Linked DNA regions of Homo sapiens: region 1 is linked to region 2. The links are contacts of gene promoters, found by promoter capture Hi-C in human tissues and cell types (Jung and others, 2019). All regions are on one chromosome and are shown on one strand. The core of a region is centred on a gene start or on the middle of the fragment in contact, and the rest is flanking DNA. Distances in the headings are between cores, read along the strand shown. Region 1 has its middle 53 kb from the start of GPR139. Region 2 holds the start of GPR139 (G protein-coupled receptor 139).

What was found. The method cuts DNA at HindIII sites, captures the fragments that hold promoters and counts their contacts. A contact is called where the count stands out against the background at its distance.
Region 1: a contact is called between a fragment that was not itself captured here and the fragment with the promoter of GPR139 in region 2, in 2 of the 25 tissues and cell types used here (H1 embryonic stem cells and stomach).

What each region holds. Positions count from the first base shown.
Region 1 is chr16:20,124,020-20,130,267 of GRCh38, forward strand. No RefSeq gene overlaps it. Among named protein-coding and RNA genes, the nearest start is that of GPR139, 53 kb to the left of the region's middle. The HindIII fragment of the contact is 5,541 bases long and covers 1,129-6,248 here.
Region 2 is chr16:20,072,485-20,079,009 of GRCh38, forward strand. It overlaps GPR139 (G protein-coupled receptor 139), which reads right to left and starts at 1,406. Exons shown (of 2, transcript NM_001002911.4): 1 at 1,006-1,406. The coding sequence starts at 1,132. The HindIII fragment of the contact is 2,569 bases long and covers 501-3,069 here.

The DNA.
Region 1 (6,248 bases), core at 2,649-5,148, 54 kb after region 2:
CACCCCGCATCCATCTTGTCATCTCTACTTGTATAAGGAAGGTAGATAAATATACACACCTTCACAGCCACCGCCCAGGTTCAAATCACATCAGCTCTTACTTGGATTATTGCAAGAGCCCCCTAACTGGTTTTCTAGCTTCCTCACTGGGAGTTTATTTGCTGCTGATGCTGTGATGGGCGATATGATGCTGTGAAGGCACCAGTCAGAGCTCATAGTTCCTGTTCTGGCTCCCAGCTCACCCAGAGAAAAAGCCAAAGTCCTCACTGCGACCCTCAAGGCCCCCATAGGACCTGCCTCCATGTTCCTTAAAACTCATAGGTGAGGCCAGGTGCAGCGGCTCACACCTGTAATCCCAGCAGTTTGGGAGTCCGAGATGGGTAGATCATTTGAGGTTAGGAGTTTGAGACCAGCCTGGCCAACATGGTGAAACCCCATCTCTACTAAAAATATAAAAATTAGCCGGGTGTGATGGCACACACCTATAATCCCAGTTACTTGAGAGGCTGAGGCAGGAGGAGAATTGCTTGAACCCGGGAAGTGGAGGCTGCAGTGAACTGAGATTGTGCTACTGCACTCCAGCCTGGGCAACAGAGCAACACTTCGTCTTGAAAAAGAAAAACCTCATAGGTGAGTTTTAAGGCTCACAGGTGAGCTCTGTGCTCACCTCTGCCACCCTGCCGCATCTTCTCTTTCCTCCCACCACATTGGCCTTCTCTGCTCCTGGGACACAGCTGTAGTCGGGCTCCTACCTCGGGGCCTTTGCACGTGCTGTTCCTGCTCCTGGCAATGCAGTTTCCTCAGACAGCTACACACTCTTTCGCTTCTTTTTGCACTTTATTCAATTGGCCCTTCCATGAACCTCCTCCTCCTCACAATCTAAAATTTTAATCGTTCTCTGCCTTCAACACTTCATGATTACCTTCTGACCTTTATTATTTTCTCCTTAGCACTTACCACTAATCTCACATACCATGTACTTTACTTACTTTTCTCACTTATTGCTTGTCTTCCTGCCCTCCCCCAACTCAGCATTAAAAGGTAAGCTTCGTGAAAGCAGGCACGTTTATCTGTTCTGTTAGCTGCTCTATCCCTGTACCTAAAACAGTGCTTAACAAATATTTCTGCAGGATCAAATGAGTTTGTATTTTCTGGATAGTCCATACAAACCCACATTCTCTACACTAATGGGTGCAAGTTTTACAACGAAGCTTTCTTTTTTTGGTTATGATAATTAGGCTCCCTTTCATGGGGACAACAACAGACAGTGTGGCTTCAGAATTCTATTTTGTGTCTGGTGCATGGGTACCAACTTTAAAAGCAGGTGGCTCCCTGGGAAATAACTGCAGAAGGAAGACACTTAGATGAAATTAGAAAAATTGGGCGTTACCTTCATGAGACACCATGGTGATAGGGCAGGGCAAGACTTGAGTGCTCCCAAATGCTGGTGACTCAAAAAGATGGTGTCAAGTTGAAGAACAGAGGCTCTTGATTCAGACTGCCTTGCTTCAAATCCTGGTTCTATCTCTTACCAAGTAGGATGATGAAATCTGGGCATATTAATGTCTCCAAGTCTTAGTTTCTCCACCAAAAAAAATGAGGATGCTGACAATAGTGCCTACCACAAGGAGGCTTCAAAGATTCAGAGAAACGAGGCATGTGATCTAATGGATAACAGAGTGACTGGCACACATGAGGGCTCTGGAAAATGTGAGCCATGGTTGTTAGCTGAAGAAAGAGGGGTCAGTCACTGATGTCACTGAGACAAGAGGCCAGGTATGATTGTAGAGGGCTTAGGGTGGGATGCTGGGAGTTTCATACATTGGGAACTGTAGAAAGGAGCCTATTAATTTCCTAGTGTGTGAAGCCTTCAAGGTTTGAATCATCCAGTCCTCAACTCTAGCTGTGGGCAGAGGATGTCTTTTGGGGTGTGAGTTCAGGCAGGTCTCCCTTTCTTTGAGACCTGTTATTTTCTATTTTTGATGGGGAGCCCCTGTGGCAGGTTTGTGTGATCCTGCCCTTAGGGTAAAGCTGATTACACTTGATCCAGATTGGAACAACTAGACCATATCTCCTGGGGATTTATAACTGGGACTTGGCTTCCATTGGCACTGGAGCTGCGAGGATGTGTAAATTCAGGAGCTGTGGGACAGCCACGTTTGGCCATGTGCACTGAGAAAGTCTGTTTTAGAAAGAGAGAGATACAGAAAACATCAGTCATTTGGTGGTGGTGGTGGTGTGGTGGGTCATCCATTGTCCCACCCTCCTCTTCCTGTTTGGGGAATTTCCCTTTCTGTCATCTTGGTGGAAGCAAAGCTACTTCAGATCACAGAAACCCAAAAGGCCACATTCTTGTTTTTTAGCTCTTGGGATGCTAACGCAGGGGCAAGTGGTGCAGGCTTGGTCAGAGTTGCAAAGTAGCTGGACCACACTAGAAGGAACTGGGGATCTTTAGAGAAAAGTCTGGTACCTGGTCTTGTTATAGGTCCACCAGGTTTGTGGGCCTGCTGTGCAACAACCAATACACTGAGACAGCAGGGTTTGCAGAAGAGAAAAAAATTAACAATTGCAGGGCAGTTGAGAGAGGAGACAGGAGGGACACTCAAATCTGCCTCCTTGGGCAGATCTGGGCTGGGATTTTTTAGGAGATCATGGAAGGTAAATAGCTGGAAAATTGGGGTTATTTGTCAGGGTATAGGGGATGAAATTGTTGGGATGTAAGAACTGCATTCTTTTGTGAGTCAGCTTCTCATGGAGTCCTTCAGACCAGCTGGTGTCAGCAGTTTCACTGGTGTGCAGAACCTGAAAGAATATCTCAAATAGAAAACTTAATATTTCACAATGATTAAGTTGTTATCTACAGAGAAGTTAAGGGGAGCTATACTCTTGTGACAGAGTCTATGTGATTCTGAAGGAATAGGCACCAAAAAACTACGAGGAAGCAGGTCACAGAGCAAGGTGGCTTCATGATTAATGCTGAATGTGCTGCAGACCTGGTTTATTTTTATTTCTCCCCCTCCTTCTTCCCTGATTAATTGTATAAAGTTTATAGATACAGTTCCAGTCCAGGATAGGAAATATATACCTGGAAATGAGCCTGGCAGATGTTTGTTATGTCAGAAAGCCAAGAAGTTACCCAAGACCAATGGGGTTCATCAGAAGAACACATGAACCATCTTAAAAGGGATTCCACCAGTCAACAATGGAACAAGTTGAGTATCAGTAGGGACATAACTGCAGGAGACTGAAAACACTTCTAATGTGTTGAAATGCAGGAGTTCATGAGGATACCACCACCACCATCAACAACAACAAAACTCACAGGTCCCTCTTGGAAGATGCTAGCATACCATTGCATTATTTTGAAAACTGATAAGGAAAGGGAGAGAATCAAGCATGCATTCTACTTTTCCCTATACAGTTTGTCAGGGAGGCCAAACAATTGAAGGGCATGTTTATCTTTGTAAGTATTCTAGCTAATAAATGAGGAAGGATTGAAAGAATTTCATCATTTTTAATACCTAATGAAATAAAGGATTTAGAAAGTGATTGCCAACTGATATCCAAACAAAAGAGGCAAACAGACATCGTGGCTTCTTGATGGAAGTGTGCTCCCTAATCATGAAGCAGTTAACAAAGAACCAGAATGAAATCAAACCTCTAGATCTAACTACTTACTTCTAGGAAACACGGGAGAAACAGGAGTATGTTCAATTCAATCATGGAGATAGAATCAGTAATTCAGACTGTGGGTGAACTCTACAGGAACTGATTTCTTTTTTCCACTTTATTTTTTTAAATTGTTTTGTATGTATTTAAGGTGTATAACATGTTGTTTTCATATACATATAGGTAGTGAAAATGTTACTATAGTCAAACAAATGAACACATCCATCATCTCACATAGTATCTACTCTTTGAGCAAAAAATCACAAGTACAACCCGATGTTATTAAGGACGGCTCTCGTGCTATACATTACATCTCCAGACTTGTTCATTCTACATACCTCTTACTTTGTATCCTTTGATCTACATCTCTCCATTTCCTTCCCCTCTCTCTGGCCCCTGGTAACACACACACACACACACACACGCACACACACACAGAATATTCTCCTTCCTTCCTTCCTTCCTATTAAAAGAGACATGAGACATACCAACCAATGGCAAGGTATGGTTCTTATTTTCATCTAGAATCTAACAATAAATATGAGAGAAATACCTCAAGATAATCAGGTAAATTTCAACACCAACTCAGCATTTCATAGTTTTGAGGAATTATTTTTAATTTTTAAAGTGTGATGATAGTTTTGTGATTATCTATCATCTAGCTGTCTATATGTTTTTATGATAATACACGTATCTTTTTTGTTTGTTGAGGCAGGGTCTCACTCTGTCCCCCAGGCTGGAGTGCAGTGGTGCGATCATGGCCATGGCTCACTGAAGCCTCAACCTCCTGGGCTCAGGGGATCCTCCCATCTCAGCCTTCCTGGTAGCTGGGACTGCTGGCATGCCACCACACCCAGCTAATTTTTTGTAGAGAAAGGGTTTCACCATGTTGCCCAGGCTGCTCTCAAACTCCTGGACTCAAGCAATCGTCCCACCTCGGCCTCCCAAAGTTCTTAATCAGGGACAATATTTCTCCCTAGGAGATATTTGTCAACGTCTAGATGTAGTTTTGGTTGTCACAACTGAGAGTGAAGAGGGTGATACTGGCATCTGGTGGGTAGAGACCAGGAATGCTGCTTAACATCCTACAATGCACAAGACAGCCCCCGACAGCAAAGAATTATCTGGTCCAAGATGTCAGCAGTGCCAAGATTGAGAAACGCCATTCTAGACATACATGTTGAAATTGTTTTGGATAAAATTATAGGATAAGTGGTATTTGCTTCGAAATATTATGAGGGTGGGGACAAGTGGGTAGGGAGACAAATGAAACAAGATTGACTGTGAGCTGAGAATTATTTAAGTTGGCATTATACTGTGCTATTGTGTGTGTGTATATATGAAAATATCAATAACAAAAGCTTATAAACACGATGCAGGCATAGTGGAGATTGTATTCCAGCAGCAGTGCCTCAGCAGGACTCTGTGCCTGGTGCCAGCAGTGGAGCGGGTGCAAGCTGGGATGTTTGGTTCTTAGAGGCAGCAGCAGTGGTATCCTCACTAGGCTTGGTCTGTAGTGGGATTTTGGCTGCAGTTCTGGCTGTCTAGCTTTTCCTTGTTGCTGCTTGTTTTTATCTTGTTCCCTGAGCTTCCTAGAGATTCCGAGGCTTCTGATATCCTTTCAAAAATTCATTTTCTGTTAAAATCAGTCATAGTTAGTTTCTGTGCAGCTAAGGATTCCGATTGATTGAAGAAAAGAATGAAGCAGATGTATAGGGTGAAGCTGATGTGACAGACAATGGAAAAGAGAGAGAGAGAGTATTCTACTCCATGGTTTCTTCCTTTGTCTCCTTCCTTCCTTCCTTTTCTCCTTCTCCTTCCTTCCTTCCTTCTTTCCTTCCCTCCTTCCTTCTTTCCTTCCTCTCTTCCTCCCTTCTTCCCTCCCCATCCCCCCTTCCCTTCTCTTCCATTTCCTTCCCCCTTCCTTTCCCTTTCCTTTCCTTCCTCCTTCCCTTCCCTTTCCTTCTTCCTTCCCTTCCCTTCCTTTCCCTTCCCTTTCCTTCCCTTCCTTTCTTTTTCTTCTCTCACTATGTTGCACAGGCTGTTCTTAAACTCCTTACCAAACCACCATCCTGCTATGTCTGCTTTTGTTCACTCCAGTGCAAATGTTCCATCAATATTTGTTTAATGAATAAATGATTGCAATTTGGCTTCAGACAAAGAATAAGCGTGGTGTTCATGCCATCAGAGGCATTCTGGTCCTCTTGGCATAATCCTTGTAGATGAACATTATGTATTTATTGTGGTATATACATTTGTCTCTTGTGAGTTTTGCTGGCATTTGTCATACTCTCTAAATGCCACTGACACTAGGATCCTGAGTCCTTGTGTTTGTGAGACTGGATAGGGAAGCACCCACCAAGGTCAGGCCCCTTGAGAGGCAGAGCTTGCCTTCTTGTCCTGGGAGATAGCCCTGTATTGATGGACGCAGCCCATCAAATTTCATTAACCAGTGTGGCAAATAGAAAAAAAAGTTATAAGCAGGTAGCCTAGGGTTTAAGAGAACAAACTTTGAGCCAAACAGCCTTGGGTTATGACCCTAACTCTGCCATTTGTTAATGTGTTATCTCAGGCAAGTA
Region 2 (6,525 bases), core at 156-2,655:
CTTCTTTCAGTCCCTCTCTCCTCTCTGCATGCAAGTAATCTTTAGGGATCTATTTGTCACCAAGACTGCCTGCAAGGAGGGTCCACCCAAAGCTGGAGCCCCAGGAAAAAAGCTTTCTCTCTCTCTCGCTCTCTCTCGCACACGGCCCAGGCAAGCACTCCCTCCTTCTCGGCAGCTCAGCTCTCTTCAGGAATTCAGGACAAGTCTCAGCCACACTTTGGAAAGGACATTAAGATGTGGGACCAGCCAGACATCCACAGCAGCCGTGAGCTGCCCAGGGTGGGTAGACCTGGAGGCCAAGCCAGGGGGCCAGGCATGTCCTCAAGGAGACTGTGACCCCCTGAGGTGGCAGCCACCGCAGGCTGCCCTGTGTGTCTCTGCACCCTTGCCCTGGCCAGGGCATGGTCCCAGAGCCAACCCCTGATTCTCCTTAGCCAGCTGGGAGACCCTTTTCTTGCTAGGCATTCTTTCTCCATTCCAGTGCCCCCCGAGCAAGAGAGTGCTCAATGTCAGGGTCTCCAGCTTCATCTCGTGTCAGGCGGGGACACGCAGAGGGGCAGAGGTGCCCCAAGTGGGGTGGACGTGCAGGGGCCACGGGAGAAGGGAAGCCTCCACGAAGCCTTCTGTCCAGAACATGCAGTCAAGCCAAACACACACAAAGCCCTCTACGCCCCCACCCCATGAAAGCCGCCCCCTCCAGATGCGCGCACAAATGCACCTTCGAATCCATGCTCACATGCCCAGCCCATCGCCCGCCGTCACAGTCATCACACACACACACACACACACACACACGCTCGCGCGCGCACACACACACACACGGTCCCCAGCTAGGGCACAGCAACTTCCTTTCCCCCCGTGTGGAAATATCCATAGTTGCCCTTAAAGCTTAAACTTTTTCCGAGGGGGCGCCAGGGAACGCACGGGGGAGGACGGGGGATTCTGGGTAGGGTTGCCCGGCACTTGGGGTTCCTGGCTTCCCTCCCTCTCCCCCACGCCCCTCACCTGGTAAACCGAGGCACAGCAAGAGGCTGTAGTAGACCACGGGCACGAAACCCAAGCCGCAGGCCGAGCCGGGGGACCACCAAGACAGCGAGCTGTTGGCTGCGAGGTGGGCGTGCGTGTGCTCCATGAGCGCGCCCCTCGCTCCCCTTGCCGCTTCGCGCCCGGCCTGCCAGCCCGACTCTGGTCGCCGGCTCGGTGGTGGCGGCGGCGGAGGCAGCGGCAGCTGGAGCAGCAGCGCCTCTCTCCCCGCAGGACTGGCTCCTACCCTTGGCCGTGATCCCCTCTGCTCGCTCCGCACCTGCCCGCCTGGAGTCTTGGCTCAGCCCTCCCGCAGGGCGCGGGGCGCAGGGTGCGGGGCGCGCTGCGCGGGGCCTCGGGAGGGGCTCCCGGAGCCCGTCTGTGCGCCTCCCACCTCGGACCCGCTCCACTCCCGCCTCAAAGCCGGGGGGCTGGGACGCCGCTCCCCGCAGCCAATCAGCGGCTGCCTGGAAGCGGAGTGTGTGTGGGGTGGGAGGGATGCGGAAGAGGAGGGGGTCCCAGCCGCCTCGCTTGGCTCCACTTTCAGGGGAGAAGATGCAGTTAGACCTGGGAGCCCCGAAGGAAGACCGGAGTGGAAAACAGGCTATCCCCAATCTCCAACCCCGAGGGAGGGGCGTGGTGTGGGTAGGATCTGCCTCTCCCGCAGCGGCTCCTCACTCCTCCAGCGTGTCCTCAGTTTGCCTTTCTCCACTCTCCTCGCAGCCACCTCTCTTGCCCCTCTCCAATGCTTCCAGTCCATCTCCGGATAGAGGATTCTATACCTAGGGCAAAGAACGGGGGAAGGGGTGGGGCTGTTGGAGCAGCGAGGATGCTAAAGCGTTGTCGGTTTTCCTCGACAAGGGAAGCTGAGCTTGCTGGCTCTGGAAAGAGGGGTGCGTGCCTCCCTGTGCGTGTGTGTGGCGACTCTGGGGGTGGCCGCCGGTGAACTGTCCCCTAACTGGAGTGCGTTTGAAGAGGATACAGACTGGCTAAGAGAAGCCCCTCCTGCATGCCGCCCTTCAGTCAGGAATAAGGATGTTGCAGACACTCAAACACGCACTCGCCCACGCTCACACAAAGACACACAATACCCAGGCATGCGGTGTACTCACACGCTCACTCAGGCACGCGGATGCTCTCCCATCCCACACCCAGACCCTTGAAAACACGCAGGCATCCTCATCACCATGCACAAGACCACACTCACAGGGCGCTCCAAACATACGAAAACGCACGCGGGAGTCATGGGGGCTTGTCGAGAGTGCTTGAAGGTTGTGTGAAGGGTAGCATTTGTAAGGCAGGTGGGATCCAAGCAATGTGTGGGTGGGTGGTCCTTTCTCCTCAGGGCAGGCAGGTGGAGGGTTCCGGGTGTGGCCACCACAGACTTGAGGAGAAAGAGAGGAGAGAAAGAGAGAGAGAGAGAGAGAGAGGAGAGAGAGGAGAGAGAGAGAGAGAGAGAGAGGGACATAGTGTCTGTCTGGGGCTCAAGACAGTGAGTGTGAGAGAGTTAAAGATTCTGCAGGAACACCCAGGCCAGGCATCCCCAGGAGCAGACTGTAGCAGCTGCCTATGCAAAGAGCTGTGATGGGTCTGAGAAGCCTAAGACCCCCCGCCCTCAAACCCCCCACTCCCGCTGCTTCCCAACGCCCCTCACCCCTATATCACATCCATTCCTGGAGAGAAGGAACTGGCTAAGCTTTCCCCAGCCTCTTCCAGGTCTCCCAACGTGGAGCAGACCCCTGTCCCTCAAGACCAGCAAAGAGCATGTATCCAGTTCTTGTCTTTGTTAGAGGTTACCCCAGGCAGGGATGGGGGACACTCTAGGGCAGAGTGGAAATCTCCAAAGCATACAGAGTCAGGCAGTCTGCATAAGGGGGGCATCTACTGGATCTAGCTGGGTCTGTGGTAAGCAAGGAGGCACGTGGCCCCACAAAAGGGCAGATTAGAGTCACATGGACCCAGCCCAGTGAGGCCAGGTCTGAGATTTCAAGCCCCATTAGATACTGAAATTTTATTATGACCTCTCTCGATTAAATATGACTACTGCAAACACAAAGAAAACGAGAACACCGCTGCATTGATGAATAAAGCAGTGGCTGGCCATTGTAGAAGCTCAATAAATAATTGTTCAAAAACCTATAGATTGGATTGGTCTGCAGGCAGCTAGACTGAGATGAGAAGTTGGGGATAGCCAGGGGCGGGGGAAATGTATGTGATCTGACAAAGCCCTCCTAGTCTCTTCAAAGATGCCCTCTGCATTGGGAATGATGGATAAGGCTTCTGGGCTTTTGCACTGGCCATTCCCTTTGCCTGGAATGTTCTTCCTCTGCACAGCTACAGAAAGCTGTTTCCTCACCTTCTTAGGGTCTTTGCTTATCCGTCCTTTTCTCTTTGAAGCTTTCCCTTATAATCCTATTTACATTGAAATCTCTACTCCCCTCCCTATTGAAATCTCTATTCTTCTCCCACCTCAAAGTATTCACATCCTCTGTCCCTCGCTGCTTAATTTTTCTGCATAGTGTATAGCGCCATCAGCAGACCATACACGTTGTATTTATTTACTTTTCTTTCTCTTAGAAAGGCAGGGCCTTTTGTCTGTGTCGTTCCTGGTTGCGTCTCAGCTTCACACGGTGCCTGCATGCTGCAGACTCTCAACAGACATCGAAAGAATGAATGGACTCAGCACCCAGGGCCTGCAGGGAGATGAGTTTATCTTTGCTTGTCTTTGCAGGCCAGGGTCTCAGAATGCTGTTGGGGTTAGGGGGATTAAGCATATAATGATCATGTATGACAAGTCACTCCAAAAATGATTTGAGTGGTTTGAATTCACAGAACTACAAACTTGGCTAGGCAGAGGGACTGGACTGCATGGGAAATCTTGACGGACCTTATTGTGTCTGAATCTTTATTTCTCCGTGTAAAATGGGGATGAAAGAAATCAGGTATGCCTTTGTCCCAGGAATGCTGAGCTGGGAGAAAAAGAGGGGTGTGGTGCGTATGGTGCAGACTGCAGTTCTGGAGAATGGGGAATTGGATTGGGTCCTCTGCTGGCTCCATCAGGAACACTGGCAGTTTGTCAAGGTCCAAGTTTCCTGGAAAATGGATAGTTTGGATGAGAAGATTTTTTATTTTTTTGAAGAGATGGTCTCACTATGTTGCGTGGACTTGTCTCAAACTCCTGCCTCAGCCTCTCAAAGTGCTGGGATTATGGTGATGAGCCAATGCACCTGGCCTGGATGAGAAGATCTTTAAAGACTTAAGTCAAGCTTTGAGTGTTCCTGGGTCCCAGGGAATGGGCAGGATGAGTTAACAACAAAAGTCTGTTTAATTTTGCTTAAGGGGCTCATCCACTTGATTGGTTCTGTATGACAATGGCAGACTCAGTTCAACAACAGTGGTTGGCTGAATTCATTCATTTATTCATTCTTTCAACAGAATGTTACCGGACACGTAACATATGCTGGTCAGGACCAGCCACATAATTTGCAAGGCCCAGTGCAAAATAAAAATGCGAGGTCTCTTGTTCAAAAATTATTAAGAATTTCAAGACACCAAGAGTAGAGCATTAAACCAAGCATGGAGCCCTTTCAAGCATGGGACCTTGAGTGACTACATAGGTCACACATCCATGAGGCCAGTCCGGCTTAGGAGACACAGGTGAGTGATAAGAGTTAACATTTACTGAGGGTTTGTTAAGAGACAGCCACGACTTAACTCATTGCATCTTCATTATCACAATGGAAGGAAGGTATAATTATTAGCCCCATTTCACAGATGAGAAAACCAAGGCAGAGAGAAGTTTAGTAATTTGCCCAAGAACACCTGGTTGGAATTGAATCCAAGGCAGTTGGCTCCAGAGCCTGTGCTGAAACCATCAGGAGCTCAGACTAGTGGAAGGATAGGTAAGTGATAGGAAACGTCACACACTGTCACGTAGGCTCTTTGTAACATGAAGGCAGGATCTTCATCTGTCTTATCCTTCACTGTATCCTTAGTGCCAAGAGCAGTGCCAGGTAGGTGTCCAGAAGTAAAACTTAGATTAGTTAATAAATAAATATAATAGAAATATATACAGAATTTTAGAGGAGGAGTTTCACACTTGAATGCCTGTGAGCCTGGGCAGGTAATAAATATTCTTCACTGTCTTTTTCTTTTTCTTTTTTTTTTTGAGTCAGAATCTTGCTTTGTCGCCCAGGCTGTAGTGCAGTGGCATAATCTCGGCTCACTGCAAGCTCCGCCTCCCAGGTTCACGCCATTCTCCTGCCTCAGCCTCCCGAGTAGCTGGGACTACAGGCCTCTGCCACCATGCCCGGCTAATTTTTTTTTGTATTTTTAGTAGAGATGGGGTTTCACTGTGTTAGCCAGGATGGTCTTGATCTCCTGACCTCGTGACCCTCCTGCCTCAGCTTTTTTTTTTTTTTTTTTTTTTTTTTGAGACAGAGTCTTGCTCTTGTCACCCAGGCTGGAGTGCACTGCAACCTCTGCTTCCTGGGTTCAAGAGATTCTCCTGCCTCAGCTTCCCAAGTAGCTGGGATTATAGTCACCTGCCACCATGCCTGGCTAATTTTTGTATTTTTAGTAGAGATGGGGTTTCACCATATTGGTCAGGATGGTCTCAAACTCCTGATCTCAAGTGATCCACCTGCCTTGGCCTCCCAAAGTGCTGGGGTTACAGGCATGAGCCACTGTGCCCAGCCACATTCTTCACTTTCATAGGAAATATGCTATCTCCCATTTTTCCTGGAAACTCTTGGTCCTCTTGGTCTAGATTCTGTTTCTCCACCCTTTGATAGAGGTGGCGGTATGAAGGGATAATTCTTTAAGATAAACAACAACATAAACATAACTTAAATTGCAACTAACACTTTACTCAGAGTTTGGAAGGCAATAGGGAGTAGTGGGGACTGTAACAAACTAGATATGCGTACGCTAGTCACTGTATGGGATTCTGGGTATACAATTGTTTTTAAAAGTTGACGTGGTCTCTGCTTTCCTGGATCTTTAAGTCAAGTGCAAGATATAGGCATGAATCAATTCATACACACACACACACCCCCACGGATAATTTGCTCAAGGGGCTGATCCACTTGATTGGTTCTGTATGACAATGGCGCACTCAAGCCAACTGTGGTTGGGGCTTGGATATGGGCTGTAAAAAAAAGTGAAAGGAATGAGCCAGCATGCACCAAGGAGTCAAGGAAAATTCTATGTAGTCTGGTGGTCAGGGAAGGCTTCTCTGAGGAAGTGATATTTGAGCTGATATGTGAAGGATAAGTAAGGATTAAGAGATGAAGGATAAGTAGTGAAGGGATGTTGGTCTAGGGGTGAGGGGAGCATCCCAGGTGGAAGAAAGAGGCAGTGCAAAGGCCCTGGGGTGGGAGTGAGAAGAACTCTTTGAGGAGGTGGGAGACCAGGGACTGTGTGTGTGTGTGTGTGTGTGTGTTGGTGTGTGTGTGTGTGTAGGTGCAGTACAAGCAGATCCATGCAGTTAGGCAGTGAGTG